5 separate regions of the Homo sapiens genome follow, and regions 2, 3, 4 and 5 are each linked to region 1. The links are contacts of gene promoters, found by promoter capture Hi-C in human tissues and cell types (Jung and others, 2019). All regions are on one chromosome and are shown on one strand. Each heading gives the region's core, a stretch centred on a gene start or on the middle of the fragment in contact. The rest is flanking DNA. Distances are from core to core; before and after follow the strand shown. Region 1 holds the start of BICC1 (BicC family RNA binding protein 1). Region 2 has its middle 36 kb from the start of LINC00844. Region 3 has its middle 56 kb from the start of LINC00844. Region 4 overlaps BICC1 (BicC family RNA binding protein 1). Region 5 overlaps BICC1 (BicC family RNA binding protein 1).

Region 1 (4,303 bases), core at 551-3,050:
TCATATCTTGAGTCTCTTGTTTGTAATGCTTACTGCGGGCATGATTTTATATTTGTGATTTATTTTTTGGTCAGTATTCCTTCTCATTAGAATTTCAGCTCCAGGAGGGAGTACAGGGATGTGTCTGTCTTTGCTTACTATTCCTTGGGCTTAACAGTGCCAAGTACATAGTAGGGTCCCAATAAATATTTGTTGATAGAAAAACACAGTAAATGTCCCTGATGGAAAACAGTGGGAATGCTCCTACATAAACCCTTTGGGTGCTGAAACTAGTGCCTTGGATAGAAATTAACAGTAATTAACAAGTTTATAAAAGGAACACATGGTGGTGAATCAGAGCAGTTAAGTGTGCAGATGCTCTCAGTTCTTCAGGAGGTGACTCTGGGCAGGAGGGGTCTCCGCTCAAAAAGGTAAGACTTTATATAAAGACCCACAGACCTGGGTCTGATTAATTGGCTGTATTATCTGCTGCTGGACAACCTTAGTCAAGTTACTTTATTTCCCACGGTCTCAGTTTCCTCATCTGTACCCATCACAGGGTCAATTCCTGTTAACTAGGCAGCTGAACCTGAAATAATTTTGATTTACCTTCAGCATATTCCATGATTATCCAGAGGCCTGTGCCAGTGATATGGCTCTTCCTACATGTGAGCCAGGCAGCCTCCTTCTGTGGCGCAGTGACAAACTGCTATCCCCATCATTCCTCCCCGCAAGTCTTTGTACTTTGGGTCATAAAATAATAGGCTATGAATCTGTGTGAACTGGGAAAACAGAGTTCCAAGGGCACACCCAGTACGAGCGAGTCTCCTCTTCCCCCGCGCTTCATATCCAAGCTTGACAGAGGCCGTGGGTGGGCTGGCCCTCGGCAGTGAGGCTCAGAGGTTACTGGCCGTCATCTGTCAGAGACTGACCTTGAAAACAGAGAAAAGCCCTCAGTCCCTGACAAGACAGCCCTGCCCACGTGCCAGCTGGATCCAGCTCGCCAACACAGCGATCTCCGAGCCCCTTTTCTACTTAAAAAAAAAAAAAAGTCTGCTGAGTCCATTCCTTGAGAATCACAGAGAAAACAATTCCTTCCTTACTCCATTCAAGAAAAAAAAAAATTCCCTTTCTCAGAATAAAAAGAGTAAGCCTCTTGTCCACCTCTCGTGCAGCGGGCCACTTTGCTGGGAGGAGACGAGGTGTCTGGGTTTGAGCCCTTCCTGGAGGTATGAACTACATGCGAGCCACGTCCATGGCGATGCCTGCGAAAGACGGGCATGATTTCTTCTCCAAGCCTTCTTTTTCCTCTTCCTCACGTTCGAGCTTGTGGAACCAACTGGGGCTGTGAGTTTCAGGGTGTAGGGTATGTATGTAAACAGCGGAATTGTGTATGCGCTTAGTGTGCGTTCAGGACTCTGCTGTGCTTGAACTTGGCGTGTTTGTGTTTGTGTGTTTGGAGGATTATGAGAGCATGTAGGGGGAAGAGATTTGTATGTGTAAGTGCAGAAAAGTAGTAGTGTGTGTGATGTGTGTGTGTAGACAGGAATTACGTGGATACTCCATGTGCGTTCAGGAGTGTGTGTGTTTGAGGAGCTATGAAAGTGCATGTATGGAAAGGATTTATACGTGTAAGTGCAGAAAGTGGCAGTGTGTACGTGGTGTGTGTGTGCGCGCGCGAGTGTGTGAGCGCCAGGGGCCGCCCGCCCGCCGCGGCTCCCCGTGGGCTGGCCGGGCCAATGAGCGCGCGGCTGTAGGGGCGGCGGGCGGGGAGGGGGCGCCGAGCCCTGCGGATGGAGGCGCGGGCAGCGCGGCGCGCTCATTCCGCGCGGGCGTTGCTGGCGGGGGGCGGCGCAGCCACTGGACCCGGACCGGGGCCGCGACCCGGGGTGGCGGGTGGCGTGGGCGGCGCCCGGGGCTGGGATGCGCCGGGGGCTCAGTGGCGGCGGCGGCGTTGGCGGTGGCGTCGGCGGCTGCAGGGGGACGAGCTAGCGCCGCGGCGCTGGGAGCCAGTTGAGCCCGGCCGGCGAGCGGAGGCGGCAGCGCAGGCAGAGCGGCGGCGGCAGCGGGAGCCCGAGCGCTGCGCGCCCACCATGGCCGCCCAGGGAGAGCCCGGCTACCTGGCGGCGCAGTCGGACCCCGGCTCCAACAGCGAGCGCAGCACCGACTCCCCAGTGCCCGGCTCCGAGGACGACTTGGTCGCCGGGGCGACCCTGCACAGCCCGGAGTGGAGCGAGGAGCGCTTCCGCGTGGACAGGAAGAAACTTGAGGCCATGTTACAAGGTAGGCATCCCTCGTGTTCTCGGACTCTCCGACTGAGCCTCTAACTCCTTTTCGGACATCCCCACCGCGCGCTCCGGCGCCCGCTACTCCAGCCTACGGCCGGCCGGTTTAGCTCCAGGCCCGCTCCCCCGCGGAGCCGGAGGACACCCAGGGACTGGAGACTTCGCGGGACTCCCCACCCTTCCACGCCTCTCAGATTTCCAGGCGCTGGGGGCCCTGTGCGAACTTGACTGGCTTCAGAAAAGCCGAAGGCCGAGTTTGTACTGGCGCGCCCAAGTTGCGTTCTGGACTTTGGAGATGCCAACTTTAGCCCGGACACCTGGGCTGTGCCATCCGGACCACTCGGGCCGCACAGAGTATGCGTGACCCTCCCCATTCCCTGGCAGCCTCGAGTTCTGTCTCTCTCCGTCTGTTTCACTCTCTCCCCTTGTCAGTATCCACTTCCTCCAGCTGAGGGGCCTTGTCTCACTATTGGGAAACGCTCTGCAGATGTCAAGGCTTAAGACAGGAGCTCCCGCCCCCACCCCTGTGGTCAAGGAGGGCCAGGATCGGGGTGAGCAGCCAAAGCGAGGGGGGAGTGTGGAGGCAGTGCTGCTGTGTTTGAGGACAGTGTTCATCTCTTGACAGGCTTATAAAACACATCTTGAGTTACATTCAGTCCATAAAAATCTTCCTATGCTATGGGTGTCTGACTTTGTCTTTCACAACTTAGAATTATTTTTAACTCTTTAATTTCTTTGGGACTTTCCCAGGTAGAAAATCTTCAACCATACTGGACCGAAAACAGATTCTGATTTATAATACGAGTGTTGGAGTGAACGTCAAAACGTCCAAGGTCATTTTGACCTTTCTTAAAACAGATAATTACTAGCCTACCTGTAGCCACCGATGTGGCTCATTTCCCACATCCAAAGAGAGAAATGAGTTAGTTTGAATGACTGTTATTCTTAAAATACGTGTACGGGACCAGGCGTTAGTCTCACTTAGGGCGCTGGTGAAGATTCATTCAGTAGCTAGTGTTCTTTTATCATGGAGGAGTTTGGAGTTTTTCAAACGTTATTTGTGGCTTTATGCATAACTTACTTTGACTTTATCAGTCAATGCATCGCAGTATGGGAATGATTTAGCCCTCTGTGGAAATGCAGTGGCTTTTTAGAACAATTAAGCAGGTTATTTTAAGAGAGAACAACATGTTTTCCAAAACAATAACTTGGTGGAAACAAATAGCAAGAGTGTTTGGCAGACGTTTTTTGGATGTGCTACAGGCTTTCCTCCCTTGTTGCTTATTTTTATTGACAAACATCCCTAATGTGTGTCATGTCTTTCTCTGTCTCTCCCCTTCCCTCTCTTTTTTTCTCAAATTATGTAACTTTTGAGGACAGTTACTTCTGTGATAAACTCTTCAAGTAAGACCGTTATAAGATAGATTTGGAAATTAAAGCCCCAGTTGCATTTCAGTAACTCATTTCAGTTATTTCGTCTGTTCTGTGGTTCTTTTTGCCTAGTTTATGATTATAAAACAAAATATTAAATTTATGTCAGGCATATATTGTGAGATCGTTTGGAATGAACTGATAGTAGCACATACTCATCCTTTTCAACCAGCTTTCAGTTTTCTACATTAGTTTGGAGTGATATGAAAGAATGATCTGTTTCACCTGCGCACAAACAAGTAAGGACAGTGATGTTAGCTTCTGGGAAGTTCAAGTGTATAACCTGAGCTTTAGAAGTGAATTTCCTTTTTTGATTTAATTCATTTTCACTTCGAATAAAATGAAATTTTGAGGAGACTTTTTGAAAATTTGAAGGCTCTTTTGTATTAATAGATGTGATACTACGATCTGAGACGGTTTGAAATTGCTTTGCAGTAATAGTTTCTTTTACAGAAAGTCTTAACATCTCTTGAACAACCGATATACAGTCATGCAGTCCATGCTTAAGGACTACGACTGGGATACCTTGTTAGAAATGTGTCCTTAGGCATTTTCATTGTGCAAACATCATGGAGTGTAGTTACACAAACCTAGGTTGTGTAGCCTGC
Region 2 (4,303 bases), core at 959-3,458, 450 kb after region 1:
TCTTGGTGTGAGATGATGAATCCCGGGTATTTACCCCAGACAATGATGTCACTTCAATGCCACATTAAAACAGGTCTGGCCTGTATGACCAATAGAATACTGTGGATGTGATGATTTGTAATTTCCAAATCTAGATATAAAGACATTGTGGCCTTTGCTCTGAGCTCTTGGTTCACTAGATCTAGGAGAAGCCAGCTGTGATGCTGTAAAGGCACTCAGGCAGCCCTGGGGAAAGGCCCAGGTGGAGAAGAACCAACTTTCTCAGACCAAATGTCCAGCCATGTGGCATTTTGAAAGTCAGTAAGCCATCCCCAGTCAGGCCTTCAGATTACTGTAGTCCTCACTGACCTCTGATTACAATCTCATGAGAGACCTCAAGCTAGAACTTCCTAGCCAAAACCTTAATAATAAATGATTACTATTGTTTTAAGCCACCAAGTTCTTGGGGTATTTATTATGCAACATCAGATAACTAATATAGTGACATCATATACTTCCCACTGAATGACAACAGGCATCATATTCCACTATTGGTAATGCTAAGTTTGATCATTTGGTTAGGTTAGAATCTACCAGGTCTCTCCACCATAAGTTTACCTTTCCCCTTTATAATAAATACATGGGGTGATGTTTGAGACTATCTAAATATGCTGATCCCCAATAACTTTTGCCCAATAGCATTAGAAACATTGATAATCCATGTCTGAATCAATGATTACACTGATATTTGAAAGTGGAGATTTTCCTAATTCTATCATTCTATTTACTATCTGGCATTCTTTTATAAAGAAAAAAAGAGCTTTCTCTATATTTTGTTCCATCTCTCTTTTTTCTCCTTATCACTGTGAACTTATGGATTAGTTTTTATTCAATGTACATATCCAATATTTTCATTTGCCCCCTCCATTTGTTTAAAATTGGTCATTAGAATCCCCTTCAAGTTATCTCATGAGTTATGTAGACATATGCTTACTGGTCTTTGAGCATTTTGAGGTAATAATCTTAGTGCTAACATAGTCTAGTTCTTCTCTGTGGATCCCATAGAGTATAGACAACACTTAGGTTTCTTATTTCAGGTCCGTTATTAATAATTGCAGAATTCATTTAACAAATATTTATTGAGTACCTACCAGCACCAGACATTGTTCTAGACACTAGGGAGAAAGGCCTAGGTAAAGATATGAACAAAAGAGAAGAAAGAATCTCTGCCCTTGTAGTTTACATTTCAGAGAATATTCTTACATTTTTGCTGATATAATTTTTCAAGTTGTTCAAAAGACCAAGGCTTCATCTCTTGCTTCTGTAGGATTTTGTTTTCTGCTTTCTAAAATGCAGACTGCTTGATATTCTTCTTAATTAAGTTGGCTGCTTGTTATTGTAGATCTGCCTGTCTTTCTGTTTTTCTGTCTCTCCCGGCTCCTAAATTCTTATATCTGGGTTCACTTTCACAGTTATGCTTTCTCTGTGTGATCAGCCATATTTTGTGCATTATGACAATGAGAGAAGTATTTTGAAACTTTGGGGCATGGAAAAAGTCATTTCCACCTCAGGGTCCAGCTGAAAATAACTTCTGTATTCTACAGCTCCATTATTTTCCTGCGTAACACCATTAAAGCCCTCCCAAAGGCAATCTTTTGGGCATTATTGTTTAATCAAATTATTCCGACAGTGTGTGGACTGCACGAGCACCTAGAACAATAGTGAGCATATAGTTGAAGCGAAGACAATGTCCAGTGAACATCAACAAACTGTTGGGCTGATTTGACTGAATCAACCAATGGTAACTGTGGCTTGCTGTTTTCTTATTATGTAGGACTTCTATTTTATGTTGAAGGTAAAAATCCTATGCAACTCTACGGGTATTGAAGACTTCATTCCTGTAGGGAAACTACTAATTGTAAGCAACAAAGACTAACAATTCCTCTTTTGTTCTCTTGAAGGATTTTAAAACAAAATCTTCTTCCACCTTTCCTCTATACCAATGGTTCCTAACTGAGGGCAATTTTGTCCCCAGAGAACAGGTGGCAATTCCTGGAGATATTTTCAACAGCATGACCAGGAGGGGCGCTATTGGCATCTACTGAATAGAGGCCAAAGATGCTACTAAACACATAAAATGCACAGAACAGCCCCTACAACAAAGAATTACGTTGTGCAAAGTGTCAACAGTGCTGAGGCTGAGTAATTCTGTTCTGTATGCATAGTCTAAGTCACCATATAATATGTAAAGGTGCTAATACCCAGAGTGCCATTGGGGGTGCTGCTCCATGATGTCAGAACATAGCCTTTGGGTAATATAAGCAACCATATCACTGGCAACTACAGCAAAATCGAACTTCAAGAGCAAATTGACAATATCTGAGTTATGGGGAGAACTGAATTTCACAAAGAATGTTCTAGAAATGGTTTGATTTTCTGCTGCTTTCTGTAAGCCTTTTAAGGTTATTCTACCTGCAACCCATGTTCTTTTTTCACTACCTCCCTCTTGGGTACAGATGGGAGGAATGTCCCAGAGATTGCAGGAAAAAAAATGCTTTTATCCTCCTCTTGCCTTTCAAAGTCTTTGCTTCCTTTACATGGCTTGGCTTCACATAATCCTTACCTGGTGGGTAATAGAGTACAGACTGTATTCCTGAAGAGCTGCCACCCCTGCTCTGTTTAGGGACCCTGCCTCAGCAGGCTGGGCTATCAGCTGCCCCCACAGCCAGCGAGCAAGTGAGGTCACACAAGCTGTGGTGGCAGAGATTACACCAGCCTTTTGCATTTGGCCTGGAATCCCATGGGGCATTCAATCCCCTCTCCTGTGGTGCCTTTGTGGGCCTTCCCCTAACAAATGCCTACTTGTTCTTCCTCAAAGCTCACAGGGTGTCAGAAGCCAAGACCGAGCCCTCGTTTGCATTCCTGGGGCCCACTGGCATGGCCTCAGGAATTCTGCAGCTGCAGCATGAATGGGGCCATTTGATGGCTTAGCTAAGGGCTTAAGTGGAGTTGGATGGCACAGAATCCTCCCATTAAACGGCACTGTCAAATTTTCAACCAGACTCAAACTAATGCTCTTTAGAAAAATCACTTGTTGTCTGAGTTCCCCCAACTTTCAACTCTTTGCTAAGGGAGGGCATCAGAGATCTGGATTCAGCTTCCACAGCAGTGGGCTTGGTACATAATGCTCAGTAAATATTGGTTAAATCAAACAGTGAAAGCCAAAGTGCCAAAATGAAGCCTTATAGATTGGTTGGTAGCACAGGAGAGGAAACAACATCTTCTTCCTCTACCCTGTTTGGTTCTCCTTCTGCAGGCCTGTAAATGAGACTGACAAAAGTCAGGTTAACTAGAAAACAAAACAAAACAAAACAGAAGTTTGTTAGTATATTCAATGCCCATGGCCATGGGGGTACTCAGTAGCGAGTGACTTAAAGGGGTAGTTAAAATTTCAGCTTCTATAGCATCTTGAGAACAATGAATTAGGAGAGAAGGGACAAGACAAGGGAAAAGGACTTAGAGCTTCTAGGCACTGGTAAATTGTGGAAAGGTAAATATATTGGGGGAACTAATGGAAAATAAGGGTTGTTTTTAGCAAGGTCTGCCTCTGGGCTGATAAAGGTCTAGAGTTGTCTTCAGTGATTAATTTCTGTCCTTTCAGGTAGAGAGGGGAGGGGGAACACCTTTACAAACTTATGTCCTGCTTTTAGGCAGAGAGCTTTTCTTGTATCTGCTTCTTCTCAATGAAGCTTCAGCTCAAAATAATCCTTATGTTAAAGTGGCATATTTTGGGGTGGCATACTCTGCTACCCTTCAGCACTGCTTTTCTTTGCCTCCACCCCTATCCTTTAGCCCTTATCTTTAGTTTAAAGAGCACTGTTCCTGGAAATGAATAATTCTCAGTAAGAGCAACAATAAATGTTTCTATACAGTCAAAATTTCAACCTTAACACCAGGCACATTGTTTCCACACCCCTAGGCTTATTTCCACATGGCCAACAAACTGTTCATTTTTAAAATGCGAATCTGAGTGTGTTCGATCATCAGGGAAAAACCTCTAGCCTCAAAACCCATCACTTTCCCTCTCTCTAACTACACTCTGAGCTCAGTGCACCCCCACCCTCCTTTCACTAAACCACTTTGTTCTGTCTTGCCACTGAGCCTTTGCACATTCTGTTGGCCTGTAACACTCTTCCTGCCTTTCTTTGTGGCGCTCTTACCCAGGATGCATTTAGCTTAGGTCAGTGGTTCTTAAAGTATACCACACATTAGAAACGTCTCAGAGAGCTTTTCATCCCCTGTACCAATTAAATCAGAATCTCTG
Region 3 (4,303 bases), core at 1,258-3,757, 430 kb after region 1:
TAAGCTCGAAACTAAAAACAGAAAAATAACTAGCAAAAAAATGATTAGACTTAGGAAATTAAGTAATACACTTCTAAAAACCCATGGGTCAAAGAAGTCACAGATATAAAATATTTTAACCAAATAACAATGAAAATATGATATATCAAGATGTGAAGATATAGCCAAGGCAAAACAAACAAACAAAAAACAATCTTAAATGCCTGTCTCAGAAAAGAAGACATGCTGAAACTCAAATCATCTAAGCAAATATCTCAGGAAGAAACAAAACCAAAATTAAAAAAAAAAAACCCTTTAAGAAAAGTGAGAAGAAGTAAATAGGAAGGATGATCAATTAATCAATTAATAATAAATATATAATATGAAAAAATTAACAAATTTAAAAATGGGTTCTGTGGAAAGATTAATAAAATTAATATGACTTTAGCAAGACTGATCAAGAGAAAACACAAATGATTAATATGAGAAATACAAAGGGGGATATCAATACAGAACCTACAGACATTTAAAAATAAAGAATACAATGACAACTTTGTGCTGCGAAATTTCACAACATGGATAAAATATACAAATTTTTATGAAATGTTCCTTGATAAAAAGAAATAGAAAATCTGGACACTCCTGACACCAAAAAAAAGAAAATTTCAGAGTCAGATGATTTCACAAACGGAAAAGAAAATCGGCATCATTCTTACCCAAGTTCTTCTACCAAAGTCTTCTTTTTTAGCCCACTAGTCTGTTAAATGCTAAGTATACAAAGAAGAGTAAGACAAGGTCCTCATCCTCAAAACTTGAATGGGGGTGACAGACTTGCAAGCAAAGACAAATTACAATAAAATAGGCAGGGCACCACTGTAGGGGCATAAGGATTTGGTTTTGGTTGCATATAATTAATTTGTTCAGAAGAACTCTGGGCAGCTTTGTAGAGAAGGTACATTTGAGTTGAGTCTCTAATATTAGGTAGGAGAACCTGCCAGACAGAGAAAAGGAAGAGGCACTGACGTTCTAGGAAGGGAAAATAAGTGCAAAAGGCTCATCTTAAGTGAGTATGGTATATTAAGGTCAGGGTGAGCAGCCTGGTTGGTGTAGCAGGCATAGGTGCATGAGACGGGGTTAGTAAGGAAAGGTAATCTCTGAGCTGCCCTCTGTCTTATTTCCTTCACTTGTGATCTCTAGATTACTAAGTTAAGTTAATTGTGCTTTTTTCTATGCCAGTTCAAAATAACCTCGCCTGGGCTGGGTGCAGTGGCTCACACCTGTAATGCCAGAACTTTGGGAGGCCAAAGCGGGTGGATCTCTTGAGGTCAGGAGTTCGAGACCGGCATGGCCAAGATAATGAAGCCCTGTCTCTACTAAAAATACAAAAATTAGCTGGGTGTGGTGGTGCATGTATGTAGTCCCAGCTATTCAGGAGGCTGAGGCAGGAGAATTGCTTGAATCTGGGAAGCAGAGATTGCAGTGAGGCAAGGCATGGGTGCAGGGAACAACTGAGGGAAGAGTATGGGATGAGGGTGGAGAGATTCTAGGAAGTAGGGAGAGGAAAGACAGCTTTGCTACTTTCCCAGATATGTGAGCCTGCTGCCCAGTGATGACAAATGTACTCTCATATTGATCCAGAGTCCTAGCTATCCCAACTCCTATGTGTCCCAGTTTCTGCAACCTGGCTTCTGGTTTTGTTCTTCCTACTGACTCTCCTTTCATGCCAAGTCTCCTGAGTACTAGGGTACAATCTACCAGTGTCAGGGATAAAACTGACCTGTTATCAGATGGAGTATTAAGATGACAACATCCAGGCTCCCATATTGGAACAAAGCCATCTGCACTTCATCCTGAAGGCACTGCAGGACAATCAGACATGCTGGGGAGACCTGAATAATAACTGTTAGAACACAAAACAAGGTAGCATATAATTATGATATTATATTGTTGGTATAAACGTCCAAGTAGGTGGAGCAAAATCACAGAGGAAAACAATAAAATTTTCTGAAGTAGGGGAAGACATTAAATGGGTATTGTTTTTTATTATGGCCATCTAGGAAAGAACAGAGCAGAAAAAATTTTGAACTATAAAGAAATGTAGTAACACAGTTAGAAAAACCTTGGGAAAATACTCAGAGGGGAAAATATTGACTGTTCATGTTACTCAAGCTATATTGATAGGAAACCAAACCAACCAACCAATGCGGTTAGACAACCAGATGATACAATGGTAGAAGAATGCTTCAAGCTTGTTGCTTAATCACAATTTTGTTTTTTGACAAAGTTTGACAAAGTGGGAAAGAATCTCTTGTCTTCAGAAAATTGGGGAAGGTTCAATAGTCATTCACAGGGATTAGTTTCAAACAAATAATTTGAAAGTCCCAAAAGTAAGACTAGAAGTAGGGCCAAAGATCTTGAGTGCTCTCTGTGATTTTTCTCTTGATTAATTGGCCTCTGCCAGACTTTTGTTGCATTTTTGTCTAGAGTTATTTTGGATGACATTCCTCTTGTCACATGTTGAGACTTGCTAGGGGGCTGCTGCTGGGTTCTTACAAGTACCTCCTCAAATGCCTTCTATTTGACATCATTTTATCCTCCTCCCTGAGATGAAAACAAGCCAACTGAAAATGTAAAGAGTGTTGGGTTGGGTATAATTGATATTATACTTTCTTTGACTAGTTGGCAGTAGATTTTGGAACAAAGTAGTGTATTTACTGCCTGTAAACATTTTGTTGACCTGAGAAAAATACGTTCATGAAATCTATTTGCATTTTCTGATAGAGAAACACTGTGGTAAAGGGTTTTGTTGGGTCATTTTGAAAATTTTGGCTCTCATTCACTGGTCAAACATTTATTGAAAGCCTACTACATTTCAGGTATTATATGCTTTGGAGGAATGTTTAGGGGAGTGTTTTTCAAACTGAACACCAAGATATTAATAGATGTTCCTTTGACAAAATTGTTTCTGGCCAAGTGAGTTTGCAACATAAACTCTTTCTTTGAATCTTAGCACATGTTAGGATGATAAAGTTCCTAAGTCTTGCAGCAAAGAAGCCTGATTAATTTTGTTTTGCTTAATCCAGTGTTTCCTTTTCTTAATTTTTTTCTGACCATGGAACCCCTTATTCTAGAACATTCATTATATCTCTTGAGATAGCAGGGTGTTCAGCTCTCTCTGCCCTCCCTGTATCTTTTGAGGAGTGGAAATGAAAGAACCTTCACATCATATCATGTATTAGACAAGTGCTGAACAGAATGTGCATGTTGTAAGGAATCTGGTAATATAGCGTGTCAATGGCAGAAAAAGACCCATGTAAACATTTTGCCAAAGTACTTTTCTCTCTCCTTTACTCCCTCTTTGTTCCTAGTCCTGATCTCTGTTACCTTTCTTGAGCCTCAGGCACAGAGAAGCAGTAGTTCCTTTTCCTTGAACTCTCTTTTTGTAAGCCATACTCTTCCTTCTGTTTCTGCCAGTTTTTTCTTTTTCTTTTTTTGTTGCTGCTCATACAACCTGTGTTAAGAAGAGGTTTGGCTTTACATTCTCATTCAGTATGTACGATCAAGCATCATCAAGTCAAAAGCTGACTAACACATGTGAAGGAGATAAGTCTGGAGATAGATTCTCAATGTGGTTGGTGGATGCACAGCCAGGAATCCGTTGTAAATCCTAAGTGTCCTGAGTGTAGGCAGATAGCCAGAGAATTTCCCCAAGTACAGGGTCAAGTCAGTCATTTGTAAGAGTCAATAGGATTAGTAAATCCTAGGCAGTGTGGGTCAAATAGTCTGCTGAATATACCCTGGGAGTCTGAAACATTGAATGGAGAAGAGAGTCTGCATTGAAAAGACGAGCACTGGTAGCCATCAGAATTGGGACAGAATGAAGAAATTCCTCTGGGAAACAAAGTAGCTAAGTTTAATTCTTCTCCAACTTTGAATTTCAAAATAAACAGTAGGAAAACATCTGGTCATAAGAATGTTCTGTGTTTTCAGATGCCTCCAGATGTAGAGGGTGGTGGTATCTTGTCTCCTAATGGAGTTCAAAGCCAAATACCATAGTTTCCATTTATCTGCAGTTTCACCTTTTTATGGTTTCAGTTACCCATAGTCAACTGCAGTTCTGAAAACATTAAATGGAGAATTCCAGAAATAATTTAGAAAAATTATAAGTTTTAAATGATGCATCATAATCTCACTTTATCTCGTCACGCAAGCATTTCATCGTCTCACATCATCACAAAAAGAGTTCAGTACAAGAAGATATGTAGAGGGAGAGAGAGAGAGAGATCATATTCCGATAACTTTTATTAACAATATATTGTTATAA
Region 4 (4,303 bases), core at 651-3,150, 280 kb after region 1:
GATCCTTTATTTTTAACAAGCTTCTGGATAATACCTCTGTATTTGTCCCTGGATGACACTTTTAGTAGCAAGCATATAGATGAACTGGAAAAGAGATGTGAGTTTGATTAAAATAAATCTAACTTTGTATTTTCCTCCTCTTATAGGTATCTATAGCGGGACAACCAGCAGGAGTAGAATCTGCCCGAGTTAGAATTCGGGTAACTATTTATTACTTTAACATTGTAAATTGATGTCAGCAACATTTGCATTATAAGGCACTAAAAATATAATAATTTATCATTTTATAACCGAATCATGTTCAATCAGTAGGAAATAGTGGCAAAAGTTATTTTAGTGTCTATCTTAGCATTCATTATCTAAATATTTATTGTATATGTTCAAAAAGTGAGTTTCTATGTTATTTATAAAATTTTTTCACTGAAAATGTTTCTCAGAGATGTTCTGGATTTTATCTGACTCAGTTTTTCTAGTTTTTATTCAATGATCATAAAGAGGCCTAAGGAAAAATGCCACAGGCAATGTGAGTTAGAAACTCTCAGGTTTCACAAAAGGCTCCCATCATTTAAAAACACTTGTAGGCCAGTTGTGGTGGCTCACACCTGTAATCCCAGCACTTTGGGAGGCCAAGGCAGGAGGATCACTTGAGGCCTGGAGTTCGTGACCAGCCTGGACAACATAGCAAGACCCTGTCTGTCTCTACAAAACATTTTTAAAAATTAGCCAGGTATGGTGGCACATGCCTGTAGTGCCACTAATTCAGGAAGCCAAGGTGAGAGGATCCTTGAGCCCAGGAGGTGGAGGCTGTAGTGAGCTGGGATGATACCACTGCATGCCAGCCTGGGTGACGGAGCAAGACTCTGACTCAAAAAACAGAAAGGAAAAAAAAAAACTTTATATAATGTAGCTAAACTTAATATCTATAAGGGCAGTTTATGCTTTAAAATCTATCTTCAGAAAAGAACCAATGAATGATACACATGTCTGAATGTCTAATGCTTTAACTCTCTGCTTTGGATTCTCATCATTTCATTTTAGGAGCTGCTTCCTTTGGTGCTGATGTTTGAGCTACCAATTGCTGGAATTCTTCAACCGGTTCCTGATCCTAATTCCCCCTCTATTCAGCATATATCACAAACGTACAATATTTCAGTATCATTTAAACAGCGTTCCCGAATGTATGGTGCTACTGTCATAGTACGAGGGTCTCAGAATAACACTAGTGCTGTGAAGGTAAATTATTCAGATAATTCTGCACATCCTATATGTACAAGTTACATGAGTTTCATTTTTAAAGAATATTAGACTAATTTGATTTCCAGAATTTTCCTTCGTTCTACATTTTGGTTTGCAGAATATGCTGTATTTTTCCATAGCTGTTAGAAATGCAATAGAATCTTTCCCCGTATATGAACAGTTAATGTATAGGATTATTTCTTTCCCACCCTTTTCTCTTAGGAAGGAACTGCCATGCTGTTAGAACATCTTGCTGGGAGCTTAGCATCAGCTATTCCTGTGAGCACACAACTAGATATTGCAGCTCAACATCATCTCTTTATGATGGGTCGAAATGGGAGCAACATCAAACATATCATGCAGAGAACAGGTGCTCAGATCCACTTTCCTGATCCCAGTAATCCACAAAAGAAATCTACCGTCTACCTCCAGGGCACCATTGAGTCTGTCTGTCTTGCAAGGCAATATCTCATGGTAAGGTTACTGAAATAAGTGTTACAATTTTTTTAAACCTCTTTGGATTCAGTGCATGTTTTTCCATCCACTGTACTAATGTGATATTTAGGAAAGCACTTCGGAAGCCTCGTCAAATAAGGAAGTTTCTTGCTAAAAGGAAATAAACTGGAAGAGTAATAAGGTTCATAGTGCCTCAACAGGTTTAATTTCATTGCATATGTAATTTTATTTCAGTGTTTTCTTTTTAACTTAGACTAAACACAGAAGAGAATTATAGTGAAATAATTGACTGCATTTTGTGGCAAGGATGGAAGGTGACTGTTTTCATCTGACCTGTAATATTAGTGTGCAGTTTGTATTTGGCAAAAAAAAAAAAAGTCCTCTGTTTAAACAGAAAAGTAAAAATACTATTTAAATTTCACCATCAAAGACAAATTTTGTCAGCCCAAAACATTTGTACATTTCATAAATCTTTGATCCAATTAAAAAATACTATTTAAGTCACAAATTCGAGCGTCACTTATTGAAGGAAGAAAAGCAAAGTTATATATTATAATTCAATACTACTTTACTACTTCTAATTTATAATTGCAATATTTCTATCCTTCCCATATTTGTTTAAAACCCCTCGGCCAGGTGCGGTACCTCATGCCTGTAATCCCAGCACTTTGGGAGGCCAAGGTGGGCAGATCACTTGAGGTCAAAATCAAGACCAGCCTGGCCAACATAGTGAAACCCCATTTCTACTAAAAATATAAAAATTAGCCAATGCGGTGGCAGGTGCCTGTAATCCCAGTTACTCAGGAGGCTGAGGGAGGAGAATTGCTTGAACCCAGAAAGCAGAGGTTGCAGTAAGCCCAGATGGCACCACTGCACTGCATTTCAAAAATGAAATAAATGAAATGGAATGAAATAAACTATCCCAGTGTATGGGTTGATAATGTAGTAACAAAATGGATGGACATGATGCTGGGCTTACAAATATTTGTATTAAAAACACCATTGTATTCTCTCATTCAGTGCTTGACCTTTAGTGGCATTTGAATCAGTAAGCCTCAGGTGTGACATTTACTATTATTAACTTGCAGAGTTTATTTTTGAGAAACTTTCAGAAAATCTAAGTTTTTATTGTTGATTCCATTCCTCTGACAGACAAGAACTTGTTGGAATCAGTAAGATTGTAATCCACGATTTTAAGAAATTTGTCATGATTTTTTTTAGCCGAGCTTATTTTATCAGGTTATTTTTAATATACTGTACTACAAGTCAGATTTATATTTATATCCAAGAATTGTTGTAATCTTCATTTTTTTTCTGCTTTACAAGTTCTTTAGATGTTATTTTTTAGTTTAGTGAAATTTTTCAAATATTCTCTACAGTTATTAATGCACATTTATACTTTGACCATACCTGCCAAAAATAATGACTCATATTATTGCACAACATTGAAATAACTGAAGGAGAAATTAAAAGGCTTTAACCCGTATTTTAAATACCATCACCATTTTGTATAGCACTATTCTTATAAAAATCACTTCCTGGCTGGGCGCGGTGGCTTACACCTGTAATCCCAACACTTTGGGAGGCCGAGGCAGGCGTATCACAAGGTCAGGAGTTCAAGACCAGCCTGGCCAATATGGTGAAACCCCATCTCTACTAAAAATACACAGAAAAGTTAGCCGGGCATAGTGGTGAAGGTCTGTAATCCCAGCTACTCAAGAGGCTGAGACAGGAGAATTGCTCAAACCGCGGAGGTGGAGGTTGCGGTGAGCCGAGATCGCGCCACTGCACTCCAGCCTGGGTGACAGAGCAAGACTCCGTTTAAAAAAAAAAATCAATTTCTTCCACAGGAGAAATGGAGCATAGTATTTTATTTCTTTTTCTTTTTTTAGTTTAGGTGAGGTCTTACTCTGTTGCTCAGGCTGGAGTGTAGTAGTGTGTTCTCAGCTCACTGCAATCTCTGCCTCCTGGGTTGAAGTGATTCTCATGCCTCAGCCTCCCGAGTAGCTGAGATTACAGTCATATGCCACCATGCCTGGCTAATTTTTTTAGTTTTAGTAGAGATGGGGTTTCACTATGTTGGCCAGGCTGATCTTGCACTCTTGGCCTCAAGTGATCCACCCACCTAAGCCTCCCAAAGTGCTGGGATTACAGGCATGAGCCATGGTTCCCGGCTTAGTAATTCATTTTAATCCTAGTGTGCTTAATGGTAACCTCTCCTGATATCCATTTACAAATTCCAGCACCCAGTGGGCTAACACTGGAAATTCTGTGCATCAGAGAAAGTATATTACATTGTTCCTAGACTCAGTAGATCAGAGGCTGTGAGTAGAGCATTAGAGAAAAAAAAAAAATCTAAAAAATGAGGTAGTTAAAAGAAGGGACAGTAGTAACAATTTACTCCAGGAAGGAGGAAAGGTTTAAACTGCATTAGGTTAAGTAGGATTTATATTGGTGAAGAAGCTTTTGATGAGTTAAGGCAGGGGTCCTCAATCCCCGGGACAAGGACCGGACCAATACTGGTCAGTGGTCTGTTAGGAACTAGGCCACACAGCAGGAGGAAAGCAAGGGAAGCTTCATCTGTATTAACAGAGGCTTCCCATCACTCACA
Region 5 (4,303 bases), core at 750-3,249, 260 kb after region 1:
TAGAAAATATCGAGAGTGCCTCAGAATTCTAGCCAGGCTGACTGGTGAAGGAGTTCCTCTCCCCAAAGCTAGTCAGTAAAGACTGGAGGAGATGACTACTACTTCAGATGTGAAAACAGCAACACAGGACTTCACAGAACACACACACGCAGAAACCCGACACCAGCAAAAGAACACAATAATTTCTCAGTAACCATCCCCAAAGAAGTAGAGGTCTACAAATTACCCGACAAGGAATTTAAAAATAATTGCTTTTTAAGGACACTTAGCAGGCTACAATAAAACTCAGTATAAATCTAAATAAAATAAAATCAGTGTAAATCTAAATAAAACTCGGTGTAATCAGGAAAACAATATATGAACAAAACTGAAAGCTCAACAAATAGATATACATCGTAAAATAGAACCAAACAACTTCTGAAGCTGAAGACTGCAATGAATGAAATGAAAAATGCATCAGAGAGAGTCAACAGCAGATTCGATCAAGCAGAAGAAAGGATCTGTGAACTCAAATACAAAGCATTTGAAATTATCTAGTCAGAGAAGGAAAAAGAAAGCTTATGGGATTTATGCGATACCATCAGGAGAAATAATATATGCAATATGAGAGTCTTCAAAGGAGAAAAGAAAGAAAAGGGTAGAAATCTTACTTAAATAAATAATGGCTGAAAACTTCCCATATCATGGGAAAGATATGGACATCCAGGTTATGAGGCTCAAAGGTCCTCAGGCAGGTTCAACCAAAATAAAACTTCACCAAGACACATAATCTTATTGTCAATAATCAATGACAGAGAATTTTGAAAACAGCAAGAGAAAAGAGACTCGTCACACATAAAAGAAGACTGTCAGTTAGACTATCAATAAGACTATCAGTTGACTTCTCAGCAGAAATCCCACGGGTCACGAAGGAGTGGGATGATATACTCAAAGTGCTGAAAGGAAAAAACTGTCTTTCAATGGTACTTTACTCAGCAAAGCTGTCCTTTGTAAAGGAAGGAGAGATAAAGATTATCCCAGACAAACAAAAGCTAAGAGAGTTCATCACCACTAAGACTGCCTTACAAGAAATGGTAAACGAAATTGTTCAAGCTGAAATGAAAAGACACCAATTAGTAGCATGAAAATATAGTATTTTTACTCCCTGGTAAAAATAAATATGTAGGCAAATTCAGAATACTCCAATATCCTAATGATGGTGTTTAAATTCATTTTAACTCTAGTATAAATGTTAAAAGACAAAAGTATTAAAAATAACTATAGCTACACCAATGTTAATGGAGACACAATATAAAAAAAGTAAATCATAACATCAAAAAAAATGGGGAGTAAAAGTGTAGAGTTACCAGCTTCAAATAGACTCATAACTATAAGATGTTTTGTGTAACTCCATTGTAACATCAAAACAGAAATCTATAGTAGATACACAAAAGATAAAGAATCAAACCATACCACTATTGAAAATCATGAAATTACAAAGGAACATACCAAGAGAGGTATAAAGAAACAAAACAACTGCAAAACAATCAGAAAACAACAAAATGGCAATAGTAAGTCCACAATGGAATGTTATTCAGCCTTAGAAAAAAGGACATACTGCCATTTGTGACAACATGGATGAACCTGGAGGACATTATGTTAAGCGAAATAAACCAGACACAAACAGACAAATACTGCATAATATAACTTATATGTCAAATCTAAGAAAGTTGAACTCATAGAAACAGAGAGTAGAATTGTACTAACAGGGATTGAGTGTGAGGACAATGGGGAGATGTTGGTCAAAGGATACAAACTTTCATTTATAAGATGAATAAATTTTGGAGACCTAGTGTACAGTGTGGTGACTATAGCTCATAATATACCCTTGAAATTTGCTAACAGGGTAGATTTTAAATGTTCTCAACACACACACACACACACACACACATGCACACGCACAGAGGTCAGTATGTGAAGTGATAGATATGTTGATTGTGGTAATAGTTTTATAATGTATGTGTGTGTGTGTGTGTGTGTGTGTGTGTATATATATATATATATATATAATCACAGTATATATCTTTAATAGATATACTTTTTATTTGTCAATCACTCCTAAGCTTGAAAACTCACCATTTTCAAAGCAGTCACTCCTTTCATGTCCACATTTCATCAGGGAATGATTTTGTCCCATTATTAATATAAGTACCATTTCCCATATATTGTTTGATTTAAAGATTTCTGTTTCTCCCATGTTTTCATTGTGCAGTCTGAACTACTATTGGCACAACTATATTTACATAAACAGTTCTAAACCTAGGGATCAATTATTGTTATTTTTGTTTAGAAAATATTTTTATGAATATCAATGGCTTTTTCTTTTGAGATTCTACTGTATTCATATAGTGTACTTTACTACCTGTACCTTATTTATATTTTACCAGCTAGGGAGCTGAGGGGAACTCAAAATATCCAAGACTTTGGGCCTAAATTTCTAAAAATGGTCATTAAAATAGGAAGTATTAAAGGAGTGTGGGTTGTGGACTTTCGTACTGATTAGCATGAACATTTGAAAAGCGTAAAAGTAGTGCTACAAAATATTTCAGGTTTACATATCTTTATTATATGTTCAGTCAAAGCTGTCAAAATCGGTTCTTACAGTTTTAATTATAATTGCAAAATAAAAATTTTATAAATTTCGGTGTAATCTTTTATAATCTTTAGCAGATATAAGTTCATTTAATTTATTTAGAAGTGTTGCATAAAACTCCTTTGCTATATTTTCTAATATGTAGGTATCATTGAGAGGCTCTGCTGTGAAAAAATATATATTGTAGAAATGTTAGGAATTTGTGGTAAATTAGTCTTCATTGATTTTTCAGGTTTTAGAATTTCTATTGAGTCATAATATTCTAGTCTGACATTTTTTCTTTTTTTGAGAAACAGTGAGATGATGGCAAAGTGAATATGTCCCATTTTTTATTGCTTTTCATCAAATGTTACTTTCTCATAAACTGCAGAGTGAACCTTTCTCCACCAAGTAATTATGCTGATATGTTGTACATTCTTAATACTCCTTAAAAGTGAGGGAAAATAAACATATCAAATGTCAAATAGTATAAAAAAATTTCTCTACTAATCTGAGAATAAGAATTATATGTTTGGATTCCCTTGATCATATATCTCTTTATGAGGATGGTACCAACAACCCAATAGGAATTTACCATAAAAAAAAACACAAACACTGATATAATACAACTAATATAAGACATTTTATTATAATTTATACTAAAACCATAATAAAAAGGTTGTTTATACTTAATGGGACAATCCAGGGAGGGGAGGAATACAAGGCTGAACACCAGTTGATATGAGAAGGCTCTGAGATTTTGGTTGTTAAAAGTCACTCTGCACCAGCATGTGATGTGTCTGCAATGCTGTTATAAATGCCATCTTAGGCAGATTTGACAGAGGGATTCGGAGATTATGTAGACCTGTTGGGCTCTGCTAATCAGAAAACATCTCTAAAAAGATATAAGAAGAAATAAGAGCTGAAATGGTAACTATTGTCGTAATCCTTCATTTAGTTACTAATAACTAACATTTATGGAGTATTTACTGTGTCAAAGACACTGCTAAGCCCATTATGTTATCTTACTTACTATGATTTAATCCTTACAACAATCTATTTCTATGGACACCTACTTTATTCCATAGCCTATGCTAGAGATTGAGGATTCAAAAAATTAAAGTTGCCTGACTTAGAGTGAGTTCACAGAAGGACCCACTGAGAGAAGTAGGGTGATTGATTGCCCAAAGAAAAAGTGATTGAGAATGTAACAGTTGGTGGCTGTGCCAGAGTCTGAAGGGCTGTCATGGATATGCTAAGGGGATGACATTTTTAATATAGAGGAAGGGGGAATAAAGGCACAAAAATTATGAGGAAATAGATATCAGTCACTCTAGTGAAATCCAGATAGTTATCTAATGCTTGTGTTCTAAAACTTGATACATAGTCTGTTTTGTGAGGGGTATAAAAACTGGGCACAGTGTCTCCCATTAGATCACAGGGCCTACAGACTGATGAAAGCAGGTATATGGATAATGGGGTAGCATGTAATAGGCCTTTTAAGGGAACAAGCAGTGTCACGGGAAACCAGCGGAGGTAGAGATTTACTTTGCACTGGAGGGGCCTGACAAAACATGACATTTGTGTTAACCTTAATGTGGTGAGGATTGGACTGATGGAGCCAAAATAATAGTACAGTATCCAGTGGTTTCAGGAACAGAAGCATCAAGATAGGAAATTATAGGACATTTT

The links. The method cuts DNA at HindIII sites, captures the fragments that hold promoters and counts their contacts. A contact is called where the count stands out against the background at its distance.
Region 2: a fragment that was not itself captured here is called in contact with the fragment with the promoter of BICC1 in region 1 in 1 of the 25 tissues and cell types used here (H1 embryonic stem cells).
Region 3: a fragment that was not itself captured here is called in contact with the fragment with the promoter of BICC1 in region 1 in 1 of the 25 tissues and cell types used here (dorsolateral prefrontal cortex).
Region 4: a contact is called between a fragment that was not itself captured here and the fragment with the promoter of BICC1 in region 1, in 1 of the 25 tissues and cell types used here (dorsolateral prefrontal cortex).
Region 5: a contact is called between a fragment that was not itself captured here and the fragment with the promoter of BICC1 in region 1, in 2 of the 25 tissues and cell types used here (mesendoderm cells and thymus).

The regions. Positions count from the first base shown.
Region 1 is chr10:58,511,072-58,515,374 of GRCh38, forward strand. It overlaps BICC1 (BicC family RNA binding protein 1), which reads left to right and starts at 1,801. Exons shown (of 21, transcript NM_001080512.3): 1 at 1,801-2,262. The coding sequence starts at 2,073. LOC124902427 (a long non-coding RNA gene) reads right to left here and starts at 981. Exons shown (of 2, transcript XR_007062147.1): 1 at 589-981. The HindIII fragment of the contact is 7,114 bases long and covers 1-4,303 here.
Region 2 is chr10:58,961,121-58,965,423 of GRCh38, forward strand. No RefSeq gene overlaps it. Among named protein-coding and RNA genes, the nearest start is that of LINC00844, 36 kb to the right of the region's middle. RefSeq lists enhancers at 2,355-2,856, 2,857-3,356. The HindIII fragment of the contact is 6,472 bases long and covers 1-4,303 here.
Region 3 is chr10:58,941,216-58,945,518 of GRCh38, forward strand. No RefSeq gene overlaps it. Among named protein-coding and RNA genes, the nearest start is that of LINC00844, 56 kb to the right of the region's middle. The HindIII fragment of the contact is 3,652 bases long and covers 682-4,303 here.
Region 4 is chr10:58,788,224-58,792,526 of GRCh38, forward strand. It overlaps BICC1 (BicC family RNA binding protein 1), which reads left to right. Exons shown (of 21, transcript NM_001080512.3): 6 at 147-200; 7 at 1,039-1,233; 8 at 1,459-1,710. Among named protein-coding and RNA genes, the nearest start is that of LINC00844, 210 kb to the right of the region's middle. The HindIII fragment of the contact is 4,619 bases long and covers 1-4,210 here.
Region 5 is chr10:58,767,379-58,771,681 of GRCh38, forward strand. All of the region lies in intron 3 of BICC1 (BicC family RNA binding protein 1), which reads left to right. Among named protein-coding and RNA genes, the nearest start is that of LINC00844, 230 kb to the right of the region's middle. The HindIII fragment of the contact is 6,609 bases long and covers 1-4,303 here.